Regions from separate parts of the Homo sapiens genome. Here all the other regions are linked to region 1. Evidence: promoter capture Hi-C in 16 types of primary human blood cells and fetal thymus (Javierre and others, 2016). All regions are on one chromosome and are shown on one strand. The core of a region is centred on a gene start or on the middle of the fragment in contact, and the rest is flanking DNA. Distances in the headings are between cores, read along the strand shown.

The links. The method cuts DNA at HindIII sites, captures the fragments that hold promoters and counts their contacts. A CHiCAGO score of 5 or more calls a contact.
Region 2: a fragment that was not itself captured here is called in contact with the fragment with the promoter of FUS in region 1 in 1 of 17 cell types (monocytes); the score reaches 6.6 in monocytes.
Region 3: a fragment that was not itself captured here is called in contact with the fragment with the promoter of FUS in region 1 in 1 of 17 cell types (monocytes); the score reaches 5.2 in monocytes.
Region 4: a fragment that was not itself captured here is called in contact with the fragment with the promoter of FUS in region 1 in 1 of 17 cell types (M0 macrophages); the score reaches 6.4 in M0 macrophages.
Region 5: a fragment that was not itself captured here is called in contact with the fragment with the promoter of FUS in region 1 in 17 of 17 cell types (M0 macrophages, M1 macrophages, endothelial precursors and 14 more); the score reaches 25.5 in M0 macrophages.
Region 6: a contact is called between the fragment with the promoter of FBXL19-AS1 here and the fragment with the promoter of FUS in region 1, in 2 of 17 cell types (fetal thymus and megakaryocytes). The highest score is 6.9, in fetal thymus.

The regions. Positions count from the first base shown.
Region 1 is chr16:31,178,090-31,182,198 of GRCh38, forward strand. FUS (FUS RNA binding protein) reads left to right here and starts at 2,050. Exons shown (of 15, transcript NM_004960.4): 1 at 2,050-2,138. The coding sequence starts at 2,126. RefSeq lists enhancers at 936-995, 1,287-2,047, 1,506-1,575, 2,048-2,809, 2,810-3,570 and 4 more and silencers at 1,736-1,805, 2,446-2,595, 2,716-2,765. The HindIII fragment of the contact is 6,651 bases long and covers 2,026-4,109 here.
Region 2 is chr16:30,724,857-30,728,965 of GRCh38, forward strand. SRCAP (Snf2 related CREBBP activator protein) reads left to right here. Exons shown (of 34, transcript NM_006662.3): 25 at 1-226. Among named protein-coding and RNA genes, the nearest start is that of TMEM265, 14 kb to the right of the region's middle. The HindIII fragment of the contact is 4,495 bases long and covers 329-4,109 here.
Region 3 is chr16:30,803,345-30,807,453 of GRCh38, forward strand. All of the region lies in intron 1 of LOC124903679 (a long non-coding RNA gene), which reads left to right. Among named protein-coding and RNA genes, the nearest start is that of ZNF629, 18 kb to the left of the region's middle. RefSeq lists silencers at 2,104-2,163, 2,304-2,393. The HindIII fragment of the contact is 5,793 bases long and covers 1-4,109 here.
Region 4 is chr16:30,873,828-30,877,936 of GRCh38, forward strand. It overlaps MIR4519 (microRNA 4519), which reads right to left and starts at 1,496; the gene lies at 1,439-1,496. MIR762HG (MIR762 host gene) reads left to right here and starts at 1,633. Exons shown (of 3, transcript NR_110942.1): 1 at 1,633-1,659; 2 at 2,203-2,291. It also overlaps a transcript of BCL7C not described here. RefSeq lists enhancers at 161-916, 917-1,671, 1,206-1,465, 1,672-2,426, 1,736-1,945 and 1 more and a silencer at 2,346-2,405. The HindIII fragment of the contact is 2,091 bases long and covers 893-2,983 here.
Region 5 is chr16:31,451,530-31,455,638 of GRCh38, forward strand. No RefSeq gene overlaps it. Among named protein-coding and RNA genes, the nearest start is that of ARMC5, 5.9 kb to the right of the region's middle. RefSeq lists enhancers at 279-573, 1,154-1,926, 1,927-2,698. The HindIII fragment of the contact is 3,667 bases long and covers 1-3,603 here.
Region 6 is chr16:30,921,186-30,925,294 of GRCh38, forward strand. FBXL19-AS1 (FBXL19 antisense RNA 1) reads right to left here and starts at 2,084. Exons shown (of 1, transcript NR_024348.1): 1 at 1-2,084. FBXL19 (F-box and leucine rich repeat protein 19) reads left to right here and starts at 2,387. Exons shown (of 11, transcript NM_001382779.1): 1 at 2,387-3,274. RefSeq lists enhancers at 457-1,425, 1,166-1,985, 1,426-2,393, 2,016-2,105, 2,146-2,305. The HindIII fragment of the contact is 5,738 bases long and covers 1,256-4,109 here.

The sequences.
Region 1 (4,109 bases), core at 800-3,299:
CTCCAGCCTGGGTGACAGAGTGAGACAGTGTCCCCCCAAAAAAAAAAAAGATAAAATGTCATCCTCACATCAGCCTTTTGTTGTGAAAAATAAAATCAAGAGTTTACTCAGTCAGAACAGGGCCTGACAGTAAGTCTTGTTAAAGTGTTAGCTATTACATATTATAGATGAGCACAATGTATATCATTATTAAATGTCAGCTTTATTATTATTATTTGTTTTGAGACAGTCTTGCTCTGTTGCCCAGGCTGGAGTGCAGTGGCACGTCTTGGCTCACTGCAACTTCCGCCTCCTGGGTTCAAGCGATTCTCCCATCTCAGCTTCCTGAGTAGCTGGGATTACAGATGCGCGGACGACGCCTGGCTAATTTTTGTATTTTTAGTAGAGACGGGGTTTCACCATGTTGGCCAGGCTGGTCTCGAACTCCTGACCTCGTGATCCACACGCCTCGGCCTCCCAAAGTGCTGGTATTACAGGCGTGAGCCACCGCACCCGGTCAGCTTTATTATTAAATGTTAACTTCATCTGCTTTGTACACGAATGCATACCCAGTGCCCAGAACAGTGCCTGGAACATACTAGGTGCTAAATAAATATTTGTGACTTAATGCATGAATAAGGGTGGACTTCCTTTCTTTTGCTCTCACTGGAGAGTTGAACTCTCCTTCCAAAGGCGGTGGGGTGGATATTGGCATATTCAGGGCCTTTAGGGCTGAAGTCAAGGGCTTAGTGGGGCTTAATTTGTGGGCGGGCCCAGGGCATGGCCCTCATTGTTTCTCTAGAAAGACGTGTCCAACCCTCAAAGGACCTTCTGAAATCCCGCTGAAAGGTTAAGTTGGGAAGGAAAACCTGCATGCCTATGTATCAGGAATTAACGTCTTTTGTCTTGTTTTATTCAGTAGTTTCAAATTGCCTTCTCCAGGCAAGGCTGATGAAAGTGCAAGTTGCAAGTTAATTTGAATGTTTCTTTTTGCTTTTGCTCTCACAGGAAGTGAAAAGGCGACCAAACACTCTAGCATTCATGCCACCAAAAAGAGGAGTGTTTTGCAGTTACAAGACCTGGATTCGAATCACGACTCCTCTTAGCTGCCCTGTAATCAGGCACAATTACTTGGGTCTCTGAGTCTCACTTTCCTTATCTAGAAAACGGAGGTATCTTTACTTCCTTCGTAAGACTGATGACAAGGAAATTATCTGTGCATTTTGAAACCACTTAAGCCTTGTACACGTTTTATTTCTGGGATCGCCCTGGTAGGGCTTCAGAAAAATAAAAAGGAGGTCCCTGAGAAAAGGCTGGGTACCGTACATCTGAGGTCAACCCTCTCTGGTCCCAAGGATGGCCTGGGCTGTTCCGCCCCGTGGCTCCCCAGGGGCAAAGCCATGAGGATCCGGGTGAGAGCCCAGTGCTGGACGAGCCCGGGGCCCAGGGGTCCCGGCCGAAATCCCTGCTGTCTTTCAGGTCAAACGTCATAATCCCCGAACCCCAGAAAGGCCGAAAGGCAAGGCAACCCTGAAAGACGACGAAGTCAACCTCAGGGCGCAGGAGAGGGAGGGCCAGTGTGCTGCCGACGAGGGAGGCTGGAGCCGCGGGGACGAGGCGCCCCATACAGCGGCAAGAGGGTGGAGGGCAGGAGCTCGCCATCCTGGGTGAAAGCGGGGCCCAGCGAAGGGGCCCGGCCACAGGAATCTCGGTTCCACCCCGCTACTCCCGGCTGTGACTCCAGTTTCGTCCCCAGCCGCCGGGACCGCCCCCTCGCCCCGCCCCCAGCGGGCACTCAGGCCGTACCACTGTGCCTTCATGGGGGTGGAGATAGATCGTGGGCTAGTCCTGCCGAGGAGAGAGGGGTTCTTCCTCAAAAAATATGATTATGTATAGTATTCGCATGATTCTAGTTAACTTGTTTCCCTTCTGCCTGCTCGGACCCTCTACCTGCCCTACGAAGGGGGCGGAGTGCGTTCCTGCCTCCCCCTGCTCTTCCGCGTTTGGTGCGCGCCTGCGCGGTGCGTAGGCGGCGGAGCGTACTTAAGCTTCGACGCAGGAGGCGGGGCTGCTCAGTCCTCCAGGCGTCGGTACTCAGCGGTGTTGGAACTTCGTTGCTTGCTTGCCTGTGCGCGCGTGCGCGGACATGGCCTCAAACGGTAGGTAAGGGCGCGAGGCGACGGCGGCGGCGCACCCGGCCGAGGCCTCCCAGCTGGGCTTTTCGTTTTCAGTGGGACCGGGGCGGCGATCCCGTGTGGGATTTTTTGGCGCCCCTGTGGCGGGAAGCCGCGGAGAAGAGTAACTGGAGGAGGCTGGTGTCGCCATTTTGTTTCGCTCCTCTGGCCCTCGCGCGCGGGGCGGGAAGTCTTTTCTTTGCAGTCCGTTTGCTTGGGGTGGGCGTTGGGAGGGACGCTTCTTAGGGGTTTGAAGCGTCAGGTGAGGGTGGAAAACGCCCATTCTCCGTGGCCTCGCCTCCCCCAACTCCCGGCCCCGCGCTCGAGCCCGCTTTGTCGCAGTGCTGCATCCGGGCACTCGCGGCGCGCACGCGCTCTGCGGGCCCCTCCCCCTTCGCGGCGCGGGTACCCCTTCCCCGCCTCGTGTTGGTTCAGCTTTCTGTCGCGAGACCCTTCGCGGAAGACTCGGCGGCGCGCGTCCGGTGTGAGCCTTGTCCCTCAGTGGTCCTTCGCGAATGGGCGGGATCGCTCCGTTCCCGCCTGGGTTGCCACGCGGCTGGGGGCGGAGGCTCGGGATCGGGGCCGCCCTCTAGCTTAACGGTTTGGCGGCGGTGGTCAGGGTTCGACCAACGGACTTGGGGACGGCCCGAGAGTTTTTCCCGCCTAAATTTCTTTCTTTTTTTTTTTGGAGACACGGTCTTCCTCTGTCGCCCAGGCTGGAGTGCAGTGGTGCGATCTCAGATCACTGCAACGTCCACCTCCTGGGTTCAAGTGATTCTTCTGCCTCAGCCTCCTGAGTAGTTGGGATTATAGGCGCCCGCCACCACAGCCCGGCTAATTTTTGTGTTTCTTAGTAGGGGCGGGGTTTCACCATGTTGGTCAGGCTGGTCTCGAACTGCTGACCTCAGGTGATCCGCCCGCCTGGGCCTCCCGAAGTGTCGGGATTACAGACGTAAGCCAACCACGCCTGGTCTAAATTTCTTTTTTCTGAGATAGGGACGGAGAAGAACGGCCGCCCGAGGCCACACCCTCTCCTGGTCCTCTTTCCCTTTTCCTGCGGGGGAAGCGCCGCGTTTCCTGTGCTGGGAGGATGAGTTGATCTTGTTCGTGTATCTTAAGTGGGGCTTTTCAAAAGCGCTTTTGTTGCTTTTTGTTCGCTGGGGGAAGGCAGGGTAGGTGAGAAAACGGAACCATCTGGAGTCCCAGGGCTGGGGACTCGAGTACCTGTTGACTTTCGCCTCCTAAGGCGAGCAGTTGCATGATCTCTGTCATTTGGGGTCCAAGGGCTCTTTTGATTCTCTGGCTTTGCACTAAAAAGCCCACTTCATCTCCGGGATTGGTCAAAGAGTGAAGAATGGCCTTTTTTGAGACTTTCTTATTCTGTGGGTCTGGGCTGAGAGAGCAGAGGCCACAATCTGAACACTGTTCGAATTCAAACCTGTGCCACTTTGGTAGTTCTGCGACGTTGGGAGAGTTAGTCTCTTGACTCCTGGCGATAATGGCTTTCTCATAGAGTGGATGAAACGAATGCGCGATGTTTTAGAGCAATCACTGACATGAATTGGGCTTGCAGAAAATTGTGGATGTCCACCAAGACCTTGGTTTTTCCAATGGTTAAGGCTTCTGGGACTCTGTAGAAACTTGCATTTTCTTCACTTTTTCTTTATTGTAAGAACACTTGGCTGATAACGCCAGTTTGTTCCTCTTCTCAACCAGTGTCTCATGGAGGAATTTTATGCCCTTTGTTGCAACATGGTCCTATTTTTATTTTTTTTTTTGAGATGGAGTCTTGCTCTGTTGCCAGGCTGGAGTGCAATGGCTCACTGCAACCTCTGCCTCCCGGGTTCAAGCGATTCTCCTGCTTCACCTCCCGAGTAGCTGGGATTACAGGCGTGCGCCACCATGCCCGGCTAATTTTTTGTATTTTTATTAGAGATGGGGCTTCACCATGTTGGT
Region 2 (4,109 bases), core at 1,326-3,825, 450 kb before region 1:
CTCCACACAGTCCCCAGCTTCCCAGGCATCTTCCCTTGTGGTTTCGGCATCTGGTGCCGCTCCCTTGCCTGTCACCATGGTATCCCGGCTGCCTGTTTCCAAGGATGAGCCTGACACACTGACATTGCGCTCTGGTCCCCCCAGCCCTCCCTCCACTGCTACCTCGTTTGGTGGCCCCCGGCCTCGACGCCAGCCCCCCCCACCACCTCGTTCCCCTTTTTATCTGGTAAGTTTTACTTCCTCAAGAGGGAACAGGAAGTTGAGTTTCTTTGGAGTGTTGGTAGGGTGGATGGAACAGTGATGTCACATTTAACCTGGTGAATTACAAAGCTTAATGTTATGGACCAAGTACTTGAGTGACATTTGGACAAGTCCCTTCTCTTCCCTGGGCGTGTACCTCATGATCCGCCTGCCTCAGCCTCCTGAAGTGTTAGGATTACAGGGGTGAGCCACCACGCCCGGCCTCTTTTCCCGTTTTTTAACCCGCACGGTAATAAATGGGCAGTAAAAGGAACTCTTCTCTGTCCCTTTTATGATTTCCGGTAGCTGTTTCTTTCCTGTACTATGTATATAGGCCCATGTCTGTGTAGTACTTGAGTTAAACTCACAGTTCAGCTTAAGTAAACCAGAACTAAGGAGAAGGAAGGTCCAGTGGGTCCCTCCACGCCCTCTGGCTTTTCCCCACTGTAATCAGAGCTGCTGCTTAGTCTTTGCTTCATGCCTACTCCCCCACCTTCCACCAGTGCCATTGACTCCACCTTTGGTTTTTACCTGACCAGCCGCTAGGTTGGTCCTGGCTGGTTGGAAGTAGAGAGTAGAGGGATTGCTCTGCAAGTAGATAATAGCCTCTTGCCACTTGGTTTTTTTTGGTAACAGTTTGTGCTATAAATCATATACCATTCGATTTACCCATTTAAACTGTACAATAGTTTTTGGTTTTTTTTTTAAATACAGATGGGGGTCTCCCACTCTTGACCAGGCTGGTCTCGAATTCCTGGCCTCAAGTGATCCTCCCATCTCGGCCTCCCAAAATGCTGGGATTATAGGTGTGAGCCACCATGCCTGGCCCTAAACTGTACAATAGGTTTTTAATATATTTATAGGGTTGTACAATCATCAACACAATCAACTTAGAACCTTTCCGTGGCCCCAAAAAGAAACGCTGCACCTGTTAGCCAGCATTCCCCAATCCCTCCGTCCCTCCTAGTCTTGAATGACTACCATCCTACTTTTTTATTTCTCTAGTTTTGCCTATGGAGTCATAATGTATAATGTGTGGTCCATTGTGACTGGCATCTTCTACTTAGATTAATGTTCTTTGAATTTTATTGTGTTATAGCGTATATCAGTACTTCATTTGTTTTTATGTTGAATAATAATGTATGAATACCACATTTTATCCTTGAGTTGATGGAAACGTGTGTTACTTCTGCTTTATGGTTGTTATGAACAATGCTGCTGTGAACATTTCATGTACAAGTTTTTGTATGGACAGGTGTTCTCAGTTTCTGTTAGATACATACTGAGGAGAAGAATTGCTGGGTTATATTGTAACTAGGTTTTAACTGTTTAAGGAACTGCCAGACTTTTCCAAAGTGGCTGCAGCATTTGACATTACCACCAGCAGTCTGTGAGGATTCCAGTTTCTCCACATTTGAGCCAATACTTTTTTTTTTTTTTTTGAGAAGGAGTCTTGCTCTGTTACCCAGGCTGGAGTGCTTTGGCACGGTCTTGGCTCACTGCAACCTCTGTCTCCTGGGTTTAAGTGACCCCACCTCAACCTCCCTCGTAGCTGGGATTACAGGCATGTGGCACCATGCCTACCTAATTTTTTTGTATTCTTATTATTTTATTTTATTTTTGAGACAGAATCTTGCTCTGTTGCCCAGGCTGGAGTAAAGTGGCACCATCCCGGCTCACTGCAACCTCCACTTCCCAGGCTCAAACGATTTTCCTGTGTCATCTTCCCGAGTGGCTGGGACTACAGGCATGGCGTCACCACGCCTGGCTAATTTTTTTATTTTTAGTAGAGATGGGGTTTCACCATGTTGGCCGGGCTGGTCTCGAACTCCTGACCTCAGGTGATCCGCCTGCCTTGGCCTCCCAAAGTGCTGGGATTATAGACATGAGCCACTGCACCTGGCCAGATTTTTTTGTATTTTTAGTAGAGATGGGGTTTACCATGTTTGCCACGCTGGTTTCGAATTCCACACCTCAAGTGATCTGCCCGCCTCAGCCTCCCAAAGTGCTAGGATTACAGGTGTGAGCCACCATGCCTGGCACATCATCACTTTGATTATAGCCATCCTGCTGGGTGTGAAGTAGTAGTTCATTGTGATTTTGATTTGAATTTCCCTGTTGGCTAATGTTGAGCTTTATTTCATGTGGTTGAAATACCATGCTGGCCATTTGTGTATCTTTGAAGAACTATCTGTTCAGATCCTCTGCCCTTTTAAAATGGGTTGTCTTTTTATTATTGAGTTGTAAGAGTTCTTTATATATTCTGATTACAGATCCTTTTTCAGACGTATGGTTTACAAATAGTCTTTTTTTTGAGACAGTGTCTCACTTTGTCAATCAGGCTAGAGTGCAGTGGCACAGTCTCCGCTCATTGCAGCCTCCTGGGCTTAAGTGAACCTCCCATCTCAGCCCTCCAAGTAGCTGGGACTGTAGGCTTGTGCCACCATGCCAGGCTACTTGTTTGTTTCTTTTTTTGAGATGGAGACTCACTCTGTCACCAGGCTGCAGTGCAGTGGTGCGATCTCAGCTCACTGCAACCTCCGCCTCCCAGGTTCAAGCGATTCTCCTGCTCAGCCTCCCAAGTAGCTGGGACTACAGGCTTGCACCACCACGCCCAGCTAACTTTTTTGTAATTTTAGTAGAGATAGGGTTTCATCATGTTGGCCAGGATGGTCTTGATATCTTGAGCTCATGATCTGCCCGCCTCGGCCTCCCAAAGTGCTGGGATTACAGGTGTGAGCCACCGCGCCTGGCCCTTGTTTGTATTTTTTGTAGAGATGCGGTTTTGCCATGTTGCCCAAACTGGTCTTGAATAGGAGGCTCAAACCATCCACCTAGGCCTCCCAAAGTGCTGGGATTATAGGCTTGAGCCACTGCTCCTGGCCAGATTTTCTCTTTTTGCTACTATTGGGAGCTAGCCTCAAAAGGAACTAGCTCTTTGAGTTTATTGGTTTTTCCGTCTGCTAGGACACCTTTTTTCCCTCACATAGAGCACTTCAAGCCAAGAGGTGAAACTTGGTAGCAGTCAGGAAGGAGATTTGGAACACTCCTCTTTTCACAACTATCTCTTGGGGTCTAGTCTCCCTCATTTGTTCATTTTGTTAACAGATAAATGTATTGAGAGCTTAATTGTGCTAGTTACTGAGTGATTATAGTGAGCAAGGCACAGTTCATGTTGTATGGGGCCTACCGTGTAGTGGATAGATATTAGTTAAATAATCATACAGATGTGTAACTACAAGCATAATAAGTGATACAAAGAAGTTTTTCAGACTGTGAAACTGGAAGCACAAAGATGGGAAAGGATTGGGTCAAAGTCATCCAGGTGTCCTCACTGCCGGGTTGCCCATTTTCTGTCTCAGAGTGATGAGACTCGGATGTCCGGTTAGCTGTTCCCATTCCACCCCATTCCAGTCTGGCCCTTGGCAAAAACCTGGTCTGGATTTGATTGGCGCCTCTGTATCCTGGTCAGTGATTTGAAGAAGGCTATAGTCCTGGAGTTGAGTGTTACGTAGGAAAATACCCACAAATCGTCCATTCTATAAACTTGTTGGAATTGTAGATCTTAATTTTGAATATTCAGTCATTCTGCTTTGGTAGCATACAAGGAAAGATCAGTTTTCTCTAGGAGAGAAGTTACTTAACATAACTTCTGAGAAAGAATAGTTATTTAACATAAAAAAGAAAGTTATTTAACATAACTTCTGAGAAAGAATAGTTCTCATTGATAACTTGGAAAACTACAAAAAGCATAGTGTATTTTTGGATCCCATGGTTTCTATATATTTATTTCCATCTGGGAAGAACAGTCAGGTTTTGATGTGGACTCTGAGGGTGCTGATTACTTCCTCTTTTTCTCTCACCCCCAG
Region 3 (4,109 bases), core at 896-3,395, 370 kb before region 1:
TCCTTTGCCTCCCAAAGTGCTGGGATTACAGGCGTGAGCTCTTTTTTAAATGAAGTTGGTGTCTGTTCTGGGGCAGCACCGTTCATGATTGATTTTCATCCTGTTGTAGGAATTAGGTGATTTAGCACAGCTCTGAACTAACTAGATGTCCAAGTTTGATGCTTTAGTTTGGAATTCCCAGAAAAAGTTTCCCAAATGGAGATTCAGTGCAGAGGAGAGGGAAAATCGTGCATTGTGCACTCTGGAATCAGGCAGTTTTGAGTTCAAATCAGACTCTGACATATACTCAGTTATTAACCTGTTTCTTTCTTTCTTTTTGTTTTTTGGAGATGGAGTCTCACTCTGTCACCCAGGCTGGAGTGCAGTGGCATGACCTCGGCTCACTGCAGCCTCTGCCCACTGGGTTCAAGCAATTCTCCTGCCTCAGCCTCCCGAGTAGCTGGGATTACAAGTGTCTGCCACCATGCCCAGCTAATTTTTCTATTTTTTTTTTTTTTAGTAAAGACGAGGTTTCACCATCTCGGCCAGGCTGGTCTTGAACTCGTGACCTTGTGATCCACCCACCTTCGCTTCTCAAAGTGCTGGGATTACAGGCGTGAGCCACCACACCCGGCCCTGTTTTTTTTTTTTTTTTTTTTTTTTGAGACAGTTTCGCTCTTGTCACCCAGGCTGGAGTCCAGTGGCACAATGTCGGCTCACTGAAACCTCCGCCTTCTGGTTTCAAGTGATTCTCGTGCCTCAGCCTCCCGAGCAGCTGGGATTACAGGCGCCTGCCACCACACCCCGCTAATTTTTTTATTTTTAGTAGAGACAGGGTTTCACCACGTTGGCCAGGCTGGTCTCAGACTCCTGAACTCAAGTGATCCACCTTCCTCGGCCTCCCAAAGTGCTAGGATTACAGGCATGAGCCACTGTGACTGATTTTTTTTTTTTTTTTTTTTGATACGGAGTCTTGCTTTGTTGCCCAGGCTGGAATGCAGTGGCGAGATCTCGGCTCACCACAACCTCTGCCTCCCGGGTTCAAGCGATTCTCCTGCCTCAGCCTCCCGAGTAGCTGGGACTACAGCTGCGTGCCACCATGCCTGGCTAATTTTTGTAGTTTTAGTAGAGATGGGGTTTCACTATGTTAGCTAGGCTTGTCTCAAACTCCTGACCTCGTGATCCGCCCACCTCGGCTTCCCAAAGTGCTGGGATTATAGGCATGAGCCACCGCACCTGGCCATTAACCCGTTTATTGTTGTTGTTGTTTTTTAAGACGGAGCCTCACTCTGTCGCCCAGGCTGGAGTGCAGTGGTGTGATCTCGGCTCACTGCAACCTCTGCCCCCTGGGTTCAAGCGATTCTCCTGCCTCAGCCTCCCAAGTAGCTGGGATTACAGGCGCCCGCCACCACACCCGGCTAATTTTTATACTTTCAGTAGAGAGGGGGTTTCATCACGTTGGCCAGGCTGGTCTTGAACTCCCGACCTTGTAATCCACCTGCCTCGGCCTCCCAAAGTGCTGGGATTACAGGCGTGAGCCACCACGCCTGGCCTAACCCGTTTCTTAATCCATAAAATGGGAATAATATTAACATTCCCTTCACAGAATTGCCCTGAGGTTATAGAGATAAGGTGTGTAAGGAACCTAGCACACAGAAGGCTCTCAGTAAATAGCAGTTATTACTATCATTTTTATCATGTTTCTTATTCTCATGTCTCAAACGTGACCCTCCACCAAAAGTTCTTTTATAGCAGAGTATAAATAATGGAAAAAAATGATATATAGCTTTTTTGTTTCCCCTCCAGACAGTGTCTCACTGTCACCCAGGCTGCAATGCAGTGGCGTGATCATAGCTCACTGCAGCCTCAAGCCTCTGGGCTCACGCTATCCTCCCGCCTTGGCCTCCCAGTGCTGGGATCACAGGCGCGCGCCACCACGCGGGGTCCAGCCTCTCTTCTGAGTGCTGCACATGCATTAATTCATGGAATCCTTACAGCAACCCCTTGCAAGGAAGAAAGCTGTGACTCAGAGAGGTTGAATAACTTGTCCGAGGAGCTCAGCCATGAGGCGGATCGGGGATGGAAACCCAGGCCGTGGGCCCTGCGCGGTTACAGGCATTCAATCCTCCAAATGTCCCCAGAGTGACTAGCGGCCATCATTCGGCCCTTCTCAGGAGGAAAGCGAGCGAACACCTCACGCGGCGACGGCCTCCCGGAGCTGAAGGGGTTATTCCCACTGAGACGCGGTCGCCTCCGCTCCTAGAGAGGCCCACGGAGGGCGCCGCACTTCCGGCCTGGGTCCAGCTTTGGCTCCGGCTCCCGCTCCTGACCTGCTGCTTCCCGGGCTGGCGTCCGGGCCGGCGTCCGGGCCCAGGCGACCGGGGCCTCCGAGCTCAGAGGCAGTGCCGAGGACCGAAGGAGGGGAAGGGATTCCCCAAAGGCATCCCTGACTCCCGAATTCCAGCAAGGGAGAATCAGGCGCTGGGGAGGCAAGGAGAGGGCCGCGGCTCTCCTCGGGGGCCGCGGGGCGCGACTCTTCCAGGACCTCGGCTGCTTTTCCCAGTAAAGCCCAGGCGGCCCGAGGCTGGCCGAGGGAGCGACCCTCTCCTGCCTCTTCTGGAAGGGCCGCTTCCCCGCCCTGCTGTAGACCCCGAGCTCCCTGGGGGAAGGACCCGCTCCTTCCATCCTCCACCCTCCCGAGCACCAGCCTGGGAAGGAGGGGATCCCAGTTCCTCCTTAGAGGCGACTCCTTTATCAAGTCTGATTTAGACATGGGCTCGTCCAAGGTCGTTCAGCAGCGAGTAGCGGAGCTGGGGCTGCACCGAGGAGCTCAGGCCCCACTCCGTGTTGCGGTCAAGACCAGATTTTGGGGTCAGCTTCTCAAACTCAGCACTACCAGCACCAAACTAAACTACCTGGCCCCTCCTCCCGAGAGAGGGTTCATTCTCAATCAAATCGGAACCTCAGTTTTTCTCTCCTGCTTTCCGTCCGCTTCCCTCGTCCTCCCTTGACCATACTTTTATGCTTCATCTTTTCCATCCAACCCGTCTTTCCAGCCCTCCCTCAGCCGTACTGCCGCAAACCTGTGTCGTTGCAACAACCTGCAACCTTGCCTGCCTCTCCCTTTTATTTCACGTGAAACTCCACTACAAGGAGTCCCCAAATCCTTGCCTCAGGCCACCCCTCGTTCCAAAAATACCTTTTAGTGATTTACTCACTGCCTGTGAGTTCAAGTCAAAACTCAGCTTGGCATTCAAGACGATTTGAAACCTGGCTCAAGCCCACCTCTCAAGAGGATTTGAAACCTGGCTCAAGCCTACCTCTCTAACCTGATCTATCTTGGTTCCCTAAGTAGAGGTCACAGATTGGCAGATGCAACTGGGAAATGTGTTTCAACTGGCAAAGAGTGTTTCTTTTCTTTTTCTTTTTCTTTTTTTTATTGGAGCCAATGGCCAGGCGCGATGGCTAAAGCCTGTTATCCCAGCACTTTGGGAGGCTGAGGCAGGCGGATCACTTGAGGTCAGGAGCTCGAGACCAGCCTGGCCAAATGACGAAACTTCATCTCTACTAAAAATACAAAAATTAGCTGGGCATGGTGGCTTATGCCTGTAATTCTAGCACTTTGGGAGGCCGAGGCGGGGGGATCACGAGGTCAGGAGATCGAGACCATCCTGGCTAACACGGTGAAACCTCGTCTCTACTGAAAATACAAAAAAATTAGTCGGGCGTAGTGGCGGGCGCCTGTAGTCCCAGCTACTCCGGAGGCTGAGGCAGGAGAATGGCGTGAACCCGGGAGGCGGAGCTTGCAGTGAGCCGAGATCGCTCCAGCCTCGGCGACAGAGCAAGACTCCGTCTCAATTAAAAAAAAAAAAAAATACAACTTCAAACTCTTGAAGTTATATTGGGAGAAGTAGTTTCCCAAAGAAAGGACAGAGAGGGAAATTGATAGGCATCAAAGGCATCAAGCACCTAGTGTGTGCCAGAGAACGACAGATGCTTTCACATTTTTTTCTTTTTCTTTTTTCTTTTCTTTTCTTTCTTTCTTTCTTTTTTTTTTTTTAGAGATAGGGCCTCATTCTTTCCCCCAGGCTGGAATGCAGTGGTGTGATCATAGCTTACTGTAGCCTCAA
Region 4 (4,109 bases), core at 688-3,187, 300 kb before region 1:
GCCACAGAGCTACACTGTCTCAAAAAAAAAAAAAATTGTACAGATATATATACACACACACACATATAGAAAAATTATATAATTTTTCCTCCTCTCTCTATATACATATATATATAGATATATGTATACACACACACACACACACACAGAGGAAGGTATAGGTGTCAAACCTTTTTTTTTTTTTTTGAGACAGATTCTTGCTCTGTGGCCCAGGCTAGAGTGCAGTGGTGCGATCTTGGCTCACTGCAACCTCTGCCTCCCGGGTTCAAGGGATTCTCCTGCCTCAGCCTCCCGAGTAGCTGGGATTACAGGTGTGTGGCACCACATCCGTCTAATTTTTGTATTTTTAGTAGAGACAGGGTTTCACCATGTTGGCCAGACTGGTCTTGAACTCCTGACCTCAAGTGATCTGCCCGACGTGGCCTCTTAAAGTGCTAGGATTACAGGCGTGAGCCACTGAGCCCAGCCTAAATTCAATTATTAAACTCCTTGAGTTAATTAAAGGGTAGCCAGGTGCGGTGGCTCATGCCTGTAATCCCAGCACTTTCAGAGGCCGAGGCAGGAGGATCGCTTGAGCCCAGGAGTTCCAGACCAGCCTGGACAACATAGCGAGATCCTGACTCTACAAAAAACAGAAAAATTAGCCGGGCGTGGTGGCGCGTGTTTGTAGTCCCAGACACTCCTGAGGTTGAGGTGGGAGGATCACCTGAGCCCTCGGGAGGTCGAAGCTGCAGTGAGCGGAGATCGCACCGCTGCACTCCAGCCTGGGGGACAGTGAGGCGGTCTCAAAACAAAACAAAAACAAAAGGGGAGGGCGGGGGGAAGACTTAAAGACCCCTGAGCCAGGGCCATTATTATTTAACTTGGTCGGGTCTCTGAACCATTCGGAGGAAGCTTGGGTTTCTATCCTTCCCGACTGAGCCACAGACCTGAGTCTTGACTCCGGATAAATCACCCCAGACTGTTTTTCTGTCTGTGACACGGGAACGGCAGCTTCTGCCTCGCGAGGTGGAGAGAGAATGAGAAGCGCCGTGTGTGGCGCGCCTGACACGGTCAGCTCGCGGGTGGAGGCCCGGAGCAGAACGCCCTCGGGCGCCCGCTCTTGCAGCCGCACTGGAGACCGGGAATGGCTCCGGCCACGCCTCTGCCGACTGCGGCAACGCGAGGGACAGCTGGTCTCCGGGGTTGCAGCGTAACGCCCTCCTTCCCGGCCTCATCTTTCCTGACTGCATAACGGGCATACAGTGGGTTCCATGGCGCAAGGGAGCTGAAGAAGCCGCCCGCCCCCAGCTCGCCCGGGATCCTCACGCCCCTATAACGCCCCGAGGGGCCACGATGCTGCCCACAGCCCAGATCGCGAGTGCGGACCCTGCGGGAGGGTCTGGCCTAGATGCGAGTTTCCCGCCGCAGACCAGGCGAGGCCACGCGACATATCCCCTACCCGCTTACTGCAGGCCGCAGACGGAGACAGTGCAGCCCTGCGCACTGCTGAGGTTGCCCGAGGTCTCAGCCTCGGCGGGTCGGGAACACGCGGCGCGCGCCCGCGCCCCAACCGGAAGTCCGCCACCGGCCGCTCTAGCACGCGCAGGGCTGCGTCTGTGGCCTTAACCCTTCCCAAGGCTGCGCCGCCGGCCTTTGTCTCCGCGGAGCGTCACAAAGGTTGGAAGGGTCGCGGGGCCTCTGGGTGCCGAGCTGCAGATGCCTCCACTGCGAGCACAGCCCTGAGACAAGGGCCCAGGCGCCCAGCGGGGCTGGTTTCACTCAGTCCAGCCGCACCTACCCGTGCCCTCACCAGATCTTAAGATACAGACATTAAAACCTCCACCGGGCCGCGGCACAGGACAGCAGTTTTACTTTCTGTTTTTGGCATTGCATTGCCTCCATTTCCTAGAGTGCACGTAATAAATACCGCTGGTGATTCCAAAATATAAAGGTTGAAAATATTTACTTTACAAAAATTTGGTTCCCATACTGCTTTTAAGGCCATCCTCTGCACTTGGTTCCCGCTGCTCCTGATGTGGTTGAAAGATGGATGACCCCAAAGACGAGGAAAAGATTATTGGCTCCATTTTTTAGATGCGGCAGCCAGCTAAGGTCTAGACAGGGGAAGGGACTTGCCCCAAATCACAGTTAGAGCAAATCAGTCTGAATCAGGAATAACTCCATTCCTATCCCGCATCCTGCCCTTTCACTACGCCACAGCTGCCTGGCTGCCTGGAGGAACAAAGGAGGGCCGGGCAAGAACGCCATTACCAACTGCAAATCCACAGGCAAATGCAAGAGGACAGAAAGTAAGTTCTTGGGCTCTGCCCTTGTGCCGTACCCGGAGGGGTTCTGGGGTCACCAGCCAGGTGCATCCCTGCCTTCACAGCCATGCACAGCGACACCCAGTTAACTAATGGGGGGGATTATGCCACTTGCTGGGTATGCCTGTGCCACCAGTGCACTCACTCTGTGCCTGGGGAAATAACCACGGATGAATCTGGGGATCCCCTGGGCCCACTGTGAAATGGACCTGAGCTAAAACTCCATTGATCACAGGACCTCAGGGATCTTTTGGGTCTCGAGAACAGAATTGGATGCTACAGGAGAAATGTAACCAGAAAAGGATTAGGATTTTGCCAGTAGAGAAAGGGAGATGTGCTTGCTTTCATTCATTTATCATTAATGAGCACCTACTGTATGCCAGGCACCACACTAGGCCCTAGGAAGACAGAGATTATGAGACAGATGTGGCCTTATTCTAGCAGGGGAAGTGAGATGAAGGAGGTGAGAAAGAGGAAGTATAGTGACTAACCAGGGACCTGACCTAGTTTGAAGGTCAGGGAACCTTGGAGGAGGTGAAATCAAACCCAAAGCCTGAGATAAGAGAGAGAAGGGGAGGGTGGAGGGAAGGAAAGGGCTTCACAGACAGAGGGAACGGGAGTGCTAACAGCCTGGCCAGCTTCCTTGTGGTAGAAGTTCTATGCATGAGTTGGAAGAAAGCTTGGGGAAAGGGGCAGGAGAGGTGGGCAGGGGCCAAATCCAGCAGGGGCTTTTCTACCATAAGGAACTTGGTGGGAGAACTCCATGGGCAAAAACAGGTGTGGAAGGGACCAAGAAGCCCATGTGGCTGGAGGGCAGGACATGAGATGAAGATGACTAGAGCAGGGAGTGAGGAGGTGGAGAAGGTGAGCAGAGGCCAAGGCTGGGAGGCCTGAAATGCCTGGCCGCAAAACTCAGCCATTAGCCTGGAGGCCATGCAAGTGAACAGCAAGGAGGAGAGTGGAACACCAGGGAGCGGTAGGGATTGCGGGGACTGAAGGGCAGAGACTCCGCCCCCAGGGCAGTCAGTGTTCTGCACCCCCTACCCCCCTACCCCACCAACCTCCGCCCCATGACCACTCCAGGAGGCAAACTCAGTATCTCAGAATATCTGCTTTCAAGGGTAGCTGGAGTCCAGATTTCTTTTTTTATTTTTGGTAGAGACAGGATCTTGCTCTGTCGCGCAGGTTGAAGGGTAGCAACACATAGCTCACTGTAGCCTCAACTCCTAGGCTCAAGCAGTCCTCCTGCCTCAGCCTCCCAAAGTGCTGGGGTTACAGTGTGAGGCACGTCACCCGGCCTGAGTCCAGATTTTTTTTTTTTTTTTGAGACGGAGTCTCGCTCTTTCACCAGGCCCGAGTGCAGTGGCACTATCTCGGCTCACTGCAAGCTCCGCCTCCTGGGTTCAGGCCATTCTCCTGCCTCAGCCTCCCGAGTAGCTGGGACTACAGGCACCCGCCACCGCGCCCAGCTAATTTGTTGTATTTTTAGTAGAGATGGGGTTTCACCGTGTTAGCCAGGATGGTCTCGATCTCCTGACCTCGTGATCCACCCGCCTCGGCCTCCCAAAGTGCTGGGATTACAGGCGTGAGCCACCGCGCCCAGCCTAGTCCAGATTTTTATATGAAATCACTTGATTTTAATGTTGCCAACATGTTCAACACCATGTAAGCCAAACAAATCACATTCACAGGCTCACAGCTCCAAGCTTTGCAGCATGTTAGCATCACCTGAGGAGCTTGTAAAAATCCCAGGGCCCTTGGCCGGGCGCAGTGGCTGATGCCTGTAATCTCAGCACTTTGGGA
Region 5 (4,109 bases), core at 520-3,019, 270 kb after region 1:
TACACACATCTGCGTGCACATACACATATACACACCCATACTAATTTCTATGTCTATCTAAACACTTTCTGAAAATCCTGAGTCTACTCCTATACCTCCAGTTCCAATTCGACACCACAAGGGTCTCCCCACCCACATTTTCTCCCTTTCCCGAGCTGTGTCTCGGTTTTCTCTGACACTGAGAAACCTGGCTGTTATCTTTCAAATGTGTACTTATTTGACCAATAGCTGGTGGAAGCAGTTTCTTATCTCTCTCGCCATCTCCTTCCCGTGGCTGATGCCTTCCTAATCCTATCAGGTTCTGCCATGCCAAGCCAGGCCACCTTCTCGTGTGGACACCCTCCCCCACCTGCTGGAGCTCTGATACATGCTCTGGCCTGCTGCGTCTCACTCCCCACACCCGGCAGAGGCCTCTTTGGCTCTGCCTGCCCCTAGAGGCTGTAAGACAGCATTGTTCAGGAAAGGGAGGAAAGGGAATGGGTGTAGGAAAGGAAGAGCGGATCTCCTTTGAAGAATTATCTTTAAAAAAAATTATTTTTTTAGAGACAGGGTCTCACTCTGTTGCCCAGGCTGGGGTGCAGTGGCACAATCCTAGCTCACTGCAGTCTCAAATTCCTGGGCTCAAGCGGTCCTCCTGCCTCAGCCTCCTGAATAGCTGGGACTACAGTGAACATCACCACACCTGGCTGGTTTTTTAATTTTTTCTAGAGATGGGGTTTGCTATGTTGCCCAGGCTAGTCTCGAACTCCTGGGCTCAAAGCATCCTCTCACCTCAGCCTCTCAAAGTGCTGGGATTATAGGTGTGAGCCACCGCCTTTTTTTTTTTTTCTGATTTACTATAATATTTCTAGTAAGCCATTGGCTTAGAAACCAGATTCACTAATTAATTCATTTACCCTTTCATGATACAAAATTTTTTAACTGAGTGAGGCCTTTCCTGAGAATTGAGCACATGAGCTTTGGTGCATGGACCTGGAAATCTCTGCTTCTTGAACTCCTAGGGGCTTCCTTTACTTCATTCACTCCTGGTGCTCAGCAAATTTCTGAATGGGGGAGGTTGGCCAGCCTGGGAGAGGTCACCCACGCCAGGAAGTCTCAGTACCTCTCTATTTATCCTATCACTTGGGAATCCTCTAGGATCTGTTTCAGGGAGTCTCTGGTTAGCCCTGAGACATAAGTGGTGCGGGTGAGACTCCTGGGGCCTATCTCAGAGGTCCTCACACCCCTGAGATTAAATCAGTCAGGAGGCAGGGTGGAGAGAGGAGTGTCCTATCAGGTCTGAGGAGGTTGTCAACTTCCTGGACTTCTTGCTAAGGACTCCTCTTCCCACCCTTCATGGGTAGCTGAGGTCAGGGAATCTGTAGGGACAAGACTTTCTTTTAAATGCTAATCTGCTGACTAACCCTGAGTCTGGGAATGCCTCCAAAATGTCAAGCTGATGTGTTTTTTTATTTTTTGGTTTTGTTTTTTTTGTTTTTTTTTTGAAACGGAGTCTCACTCTTTCATCCAAACTGGGGTGCAGTGGCACGATCTTGGCTCACTGAAACCTCCACCTCCTGGGTTCAAGCAATTTTCCTGCCTCAACCTCCCAAGTAGCTGGGATTACAGGCACGTGCCACCATGCCTGGCTAATTTTTATATTTTTGGTAGAGACAGGGTTTCACCACGTTGGGCAGCCTGGTCTCGAACTCCTGACCTCAGGTGATCTGCCCACCTCGGCCTCCCAAAGCGCTGGGAATACAGGCGTGAGCCACCGTACCAAGACATCCCACAGCACCAGCCTGTGTGTGTCTCGCCAGGCTCAGAGCTGGGAACCTGGAACCCAGGACTGGGTGAGCTCAGAGACATAACTGTGACTGTACTGGAGTCAGTCTTATGCCCAGAGCTAAGCAGAAGCAGGGCCAGCCCAGAGGAGACGATGTTACCGACTCCCACCCCGTCCTGTCTAGCGCTTAGAGTACCTCTGTACTGGCTTGCTTCCTACAGTTGCTCTGGGAGGAATGTGTGCCAGAGACCCTGACCTCTGACCCAGGCATGCAAGGGTCTGCCTTGCCTAGTTGAGCCTGTGCACTCTGTCTCTGCCTCCCTTCAGATAGGGAAAGGAGCTTCAAATTACGGGGTGATGTCATAGCACGGAGTGGAGATGGGGTGGCAGGGAGACAGGGAGGCTCAGGGAAGGAGGCCAGGTATTTCACAGAGGAGTTCTGGGGGAGAAGAAGGAAAACGGCAGAGAAGGGAACAGGAAGGGGTGAAGGAAAGGGGAAAAGTGCCTTCACTGCATGGAAAGGTCCTTCTCACCCACAGTGGGGTGGGATGGAGACTGTAACCTCAAGTACTTTTCTGCAGGGGACAGGCAAGTAACACATATGAAACGTGCTGAGTCAGGGATGCAAGAGGGAGTGTCCCTGTTCCTATGTCCAGGACAGCCACTACTCAACGAACTGCTGCCATAAAAATCCAATGTTGCAGCATCTTCTGATATAAATAATAAAGCAGGCCGGGTGTGGTGACTGACGCCTGTAATCCTACCACTTTCGGAAGCCGAGGTGGGTGGGGGAGGGAAGGGCCGGGGCAGGGGATCTTTTCTTTTTTTTTTTGAAACGGAGTCTTGCTCTGTCACCCAGGCTGGATTGCAGTGACAGGATCTCCGCCCACTGCAAGCTCTGCCTCCTGGGTTCATGCCATTCTCTTGCCTCAGCCTCTTGAGTAGCTGGAACTATAGGCGCCTGCCACCATTTCCAGCTAATTTTTTGTATTTTTAGTAGAGACAGGATTTCACCTTGTTAGCCAGGAAGGTCTCGATCTCCTGACCTCGTGATCCGCCCACCTAGGCCTCCCAAAGTGCTGGGATTACAGGCGTGAGCCACCGTGCCCGGCCAGGAGGGGATCATTTGAGCCTAGGAGTTCAAGACCAGTCTGCAACCTGGCAAGATCCTGTCTCAATTAAAAAAAAAAAAAAACAAAAAAAACAACAACAAACCAAGCCCCAGAAATCGACTGTGATGTGAAATCTCCTTATTTAAATGTTGGCTCTTTAAAAAAATAAAAAGACCAGGTTAGGTGGCTCACATCTGTAATCCCAGCATTTTGGGAGGCTGAGACCAGAGGAACACTTGAACTCAGGAGTTCAAGACCAGCCTGGGCAACACAGTGAGACCCCGTCTCTACAAAACATTTTTTAAAAATCAAAAAATTAGCCAGGTGTGGTGGTGTATGCCTGTAGTCCCAGCTCCTTGGGAGGTTAAGGTGGGAGGATCACTTGAGCCCAGGAGGTTGAGGCTACAGTGAGCCACAATTGCACCACTGCACTCCAGCCTGGATGACAGAGTGAGATTCTGTCTCAAAAATAAATAAATAAATAAATAAATAAATAAATGGGCATGGTAGCTCACACCTGTAATTCCAGCATTTTGGGAGGCTGAGGCAGGGGGATTGCTTGAGCCTGGAAGTTTCAGAGACCAGCCTGGGCAACAAAATGGAACTCAAAAAGTAAAAATCTTGGCTTGTTTGAAAACACACACACACACACACACACACACACACACACACACACACAGCCAAAACAAATGTGTTTCCCATCTCGGGCTTGGGCACTGGGTCACAAGCTTGGACAGTGAAGCTACTTCTAAACCCAGCACAGGGTACAGTGGATGCAGGACATGGGATAAACTCCTGTTAGATTAAGCCCGTCCCTCTGCTTCTGAGGTCTGGCCTGCCTCGCTGTTCTGGTCAGAACCTGTTTTATGCAATTGGAGAGGAGAGGGGTCCCAGGAGTATTAGCCCTAATGTGAGAAATTAGATTACAGGTCTCTGAAAGGGATTCTGCAAACCAATCCTCCTTCCAAGCCTACTCTACCCATACCTAATATTCTTAAGCAGTTATGAATTTTGCAGAGGTCTACAACACTTGACACTCACTCAAGGCAACTGTGAGGAAACTGAGGCTTAAAGGCCACTAGTAAGCAGTGTAAAAAGGACCTGATCATGACAATTATTCTTTGAGTGCCTACCATGCATGTGCTGGGCTCAGGCCCTTCACTCAAACCCTGGCTCGTACTCTCTGAAGGGTCCTGGGTGAGGAAGATGTCAAGAACCCCATACCTCATCAC
Region 6 (4,109 bases), core at 834-3,333, 260 kb before region 1:
CTGCCAAACACAGAAGACAGAGGGAAGGGGAGGGGGCTGTCTTGGGGTCAGAAGTGAGCAGGTTTTCCAGGGGAGAAGGAAGATTGAGAAGAGGGGTATGGCTGCTGGCTCACACCTATAATCCCAACACTTAGGGAGGCCAAGGCGGGAGGCACACTTGTGGCCAGGAGTTCGAGACCAGCCTGGGCAACATAGCGAGACTTCGTCTGAACAAAAAAAAATTATAGTTTAAAAATTAGCTGGGTGTAGTGGCGCGTGCCTGAAGTCCCAGGTATTCACAAGGCTGAGGGAGGAGGATCGCTTAAGCCCAGGAGGTCGAGGCTGCAGCAAACTATGATCCTGCAACTGCACTCCAACCCAAGTGACAGAGCAAGACCTTAAAACACACACAAAAAAAACCAAAAAACGGCAGAAAGATGAGAAGCCGTTCCATTTGCATAGGCAGTTGAAGTGTCTAGGCAGAGGCCTCCAAGGCTGACTGGATATCAGGCAGGGGATGAGGCTGGACAGCCTGCAATGCCTCCAACTCCAGGTTGCGGAAATCGTGTTTGTAGTACCTCAGTCGAATGGAGATTGAGCGCCCCCTGGGAGCAGTGCTCGGTAACAGACGCTGGAGGACCCCGATGAGGAGGGGCGGGGGTCGGTTCAATCTGGGAGGAGCCTGCGGGTCAGTTTTCTTCTCACAGGAGCGAACTCTGTCCGGCATCATGGATTCCTGGGCTCCCAGAACGGCTGGGCTGGAAGGGACCTTAGAAAGGGATCTACCACCGCGTGCCCCGTGCCAGAGTTGGGCACTTTGGTGACAAGAACATTGGCTTGTTTAACACTCACAACTGTGCTTCGAGGTGGGGATCATTATCCCCATTGTCCCCATTTTGCAGATGAGAAAAAGCAAGGTTTGGTGGCTTCCCGGGGCGGGGCGGGGATTCGCTGTGACTCCAGGTCCTTTTCCCCGGAGCCCGCACGTCTTGTAAGACACTGATTCCCGGAGGTCTGAGGAGCAGGAATCGAGTGGGAGGTGCCCAGGCTTTCTAGGGAACAAGAGTGTGAATGCACTCTCGACGAGAACCACGCCCCCCTGTTCGACAAGACTGATTCCTGCTGCCTTCCTTTAAGGGCCCTCCCCTGAAACGCGAAGTCCTCGCCCCATGGAGAGGCGGACATTCTTTATTCCCGGATCGCCCGACGTTTTTCTCCCCCACCCGCACTGATCCCCACTGGTGACATAAATCCTTCCCCTCCACTCGCGAGTGAAAGCTTGGGACTACATTTCCCGCCAGGCTGTTCAGAAGCCGGTGGCGGAGAGAGGAGAAAAGAGTCTTTCCGTTTCCGTCGCCTCGCAATTTGGCGTGTCCGCCGGGATTCACATTTCAACAGCGACGTCCTTTCTCTGTTGGACTCGGCAAGGAACTACATTTCCCAGCAGGCACCGGCGCAGAGGTCGAGGGGCGAGGTCGCCATCTTTTTCGTAGTCCTCTCCCTCATTTCCGCAGGGAAGAGGCCAGACGCCTGGACTACACATCCCATGTCGCAGTCGCCCCGGCCCTGCAGCCGCCATCTTTGCCGGTGGCCCCGCCCCATCCCCTTCCATTGTCTCGACTTGAGATGATAGACGGGAGCCGGGAGACTGCAACTCCCGTCAGGCCGTGCGCCACTGGTGGGGGGGATTTCGAGACCACAGGCGGGCGAGGTGCCCAAGGTGGTGGAAAGCGGAGACCGGGAGAGGCTAGGTAGCCTGCCATCTTTACGGTAGTCTCCTCGTCCTCCTGGTTCCGCCATTCTTAAGGAACACTGGAAGGCTATAAAACTACTAATCCCATCGCACCTCGTAAGATCGACTACTAGTCAGGTGTATGTCCCTCTTCCGCCATCTTGCTTGTAGTCCTCTTTCCTTTTCACCTTTCCATTGTTCCTGACGAGTAGAAATGGCAGCGGGAAGGCAGCAGATGGACTGCGACTCCCGTCAGGTACCACACACGCGGAGGGTTGTGGACAGGAGGGCGTGTGAGTGCCTGGGAAGGAGGTCGGGTCGGGGGAGAAGGCCATCTTGTTTGTAGTCATCGTTCCCTCTCCTTCTCGATGTTCTGCAACTGGGAGCCTCGGGGCAACGGGACTCTAACTCCCGGCATCCTCGGCTCCCGGCTGGGCACGCCCTCCGCCGTCCTGTTTGTAGTTCCCGCTGTCCCCAGCGTCCTATTGTTCCCCCGTAGCATCAGTGGCCGCAGGACTACAACTCCCGTCGAGCCCTGCGTGCGTTCGTCCTGGAAAGTGGAGGTGGTGGAGGAAGGAGGGGGAAGGGGGCGGGGTTCCTCTGGGAGAAGGAGGGAGTAAAGAGGGGGAGGAGGAGGAGGAGGAGGGAAGGAGGAGGGAGGGGAGGGGAGGGGGGAAGAGAGGAGGAAGGAGGAAGGAGCTGAGGAGGGATGAGAGAGGCGGCCAGGGCCCCGGGCCGTAGCAGCGCGGGGCTGGGGGACCAGGGGGGCTGAGACACCCCAACTGCCCCCTTCCCCTTTCCCTCTCCCCCTCTATCCTTTCCTTCCACCCTCCCGCTTGAGGAGGGGGATTTATTCAAATTTTATTTAAATCCCTATCTCCCGAGGGTCGCGCGCTTGGGGGAGGGGGAGAGGTCGGGGGTGCGCGCGGGCTGGGGGGGGCGGGGCCGGAGCAGCTTCCTTCACCTCCCCCTCCGCTCGCCTCGCAGCCGTAGGGCAGGGGGTCGCAGTCCAGGGGCGGGCCCAGGGGAGGGGGGCAGGTTACAGCGACCCCCCCCTCCCCGGGAACCGGCGGTGGGCGGGCTTGAACCCCGGAAACGGTGGGGGGGGCCCAGGCCTGGCACTGGACCCCTGGGCAGTGGGGTCCGGGAAGGGGCCAGTTAAAGGGCCAGGGGCGCTGGGGAGAGGCGGGGCGGGGTGGGGGGAGGGGAGCTGGGACTCGGACCCGGGACTGAGTGGGCCCCGGGCAGAAGCTGAGCACCCTGCGCCCAAGGAGCCCCCGTTGGCCTGGGGGGGCTGAGGGACTGAGCCTCCCAGAGCAGGACCTCCCCCTGGAAGGGCCGCGCCGCAGCCCGTGGGAGGGCCTCGCCCCCGGCGCCCCCCATCTCCACTCGCCGCCGTCCCGGCCTCCGCCGGAGGGAGGGGCCGAGCGCCCTCGGGGGGCCGTGGACCCCGGCGTTCTGAGCGTTCCGCGCCCCGCGCCGCCCGGCCCCCCCGCCGCCGATGGCCGCCGACCCGCCGGGAGCTGCCGAGAAGGGAGAGATGGCTCCCGGGACACGTGTGAGGTGGGTTCATGCGGCTCCTCCTCACCCCCAGACCTGGGCAGCGCCCACTCCCATTCATCCTCAGCCCGGCCTCTCTCTACCTTCCCCGCCCCCAGCCTCACCCTCTCTCTACTCCAAACTCATCTCCAGCCCTCCTTCCTATGACCTCTCCACCCTGGGGAACTGGCCCTCCTTCCTAGACCCTGCTTCCCCTTGAAAGCCCCCACCCCCGCCTGCAGTCGCCGCCCTCCAGGCCCCTCCCCTGGAGCGCTGGAGGGCCCCTTAGCCCCATGGATGGGTATGAAAGTCCCCGGAAAGGGGGAATCTGGGGTAAGACTGACTGGGAAGAGACCCTCCAGGCTTCTAATTCCACATGGGATCTTGGAGGATCTGGTTTCCATGGGAGGGGGAGCCCAAGGGATTCTAGATGATTAGGGATGAAAGCAGCCCGGGAAGCTGGGGGTCCTAGGACTGAGCCCATCCTCAGTTCTGGGAAGATGTCAGGCTGGATTCTAGAATCCCAAGGAATTTGGGAGATTGCCCAGGTGGACCTGAGGGATCCAAGAGGAGGGTGTCCTGGAGGAGGGAACCCTGTGGGGAACAAGAGGGGCTGAGATCTTGGGCTGAGAAGGGTCTCTGAAGAAGCATCTCCAGGGCTGTCAGAGCTCTGGGGAGTTAGTGGGCAGAGGAGATCGTTAGGGACTTGGGGGCAAGGATCTCGCTGGATCTGGTGAGGATAACTGGGTTGAGGGGAAGAGAGATTGGATGGCTGCTGTGGATGAAAAGGTTGGTGGGGCGGGGGGGAGGAAAAGTCCGGAGCTTCCGTCTAGGAATCTCTGGGTATCTGGGAGGTGAA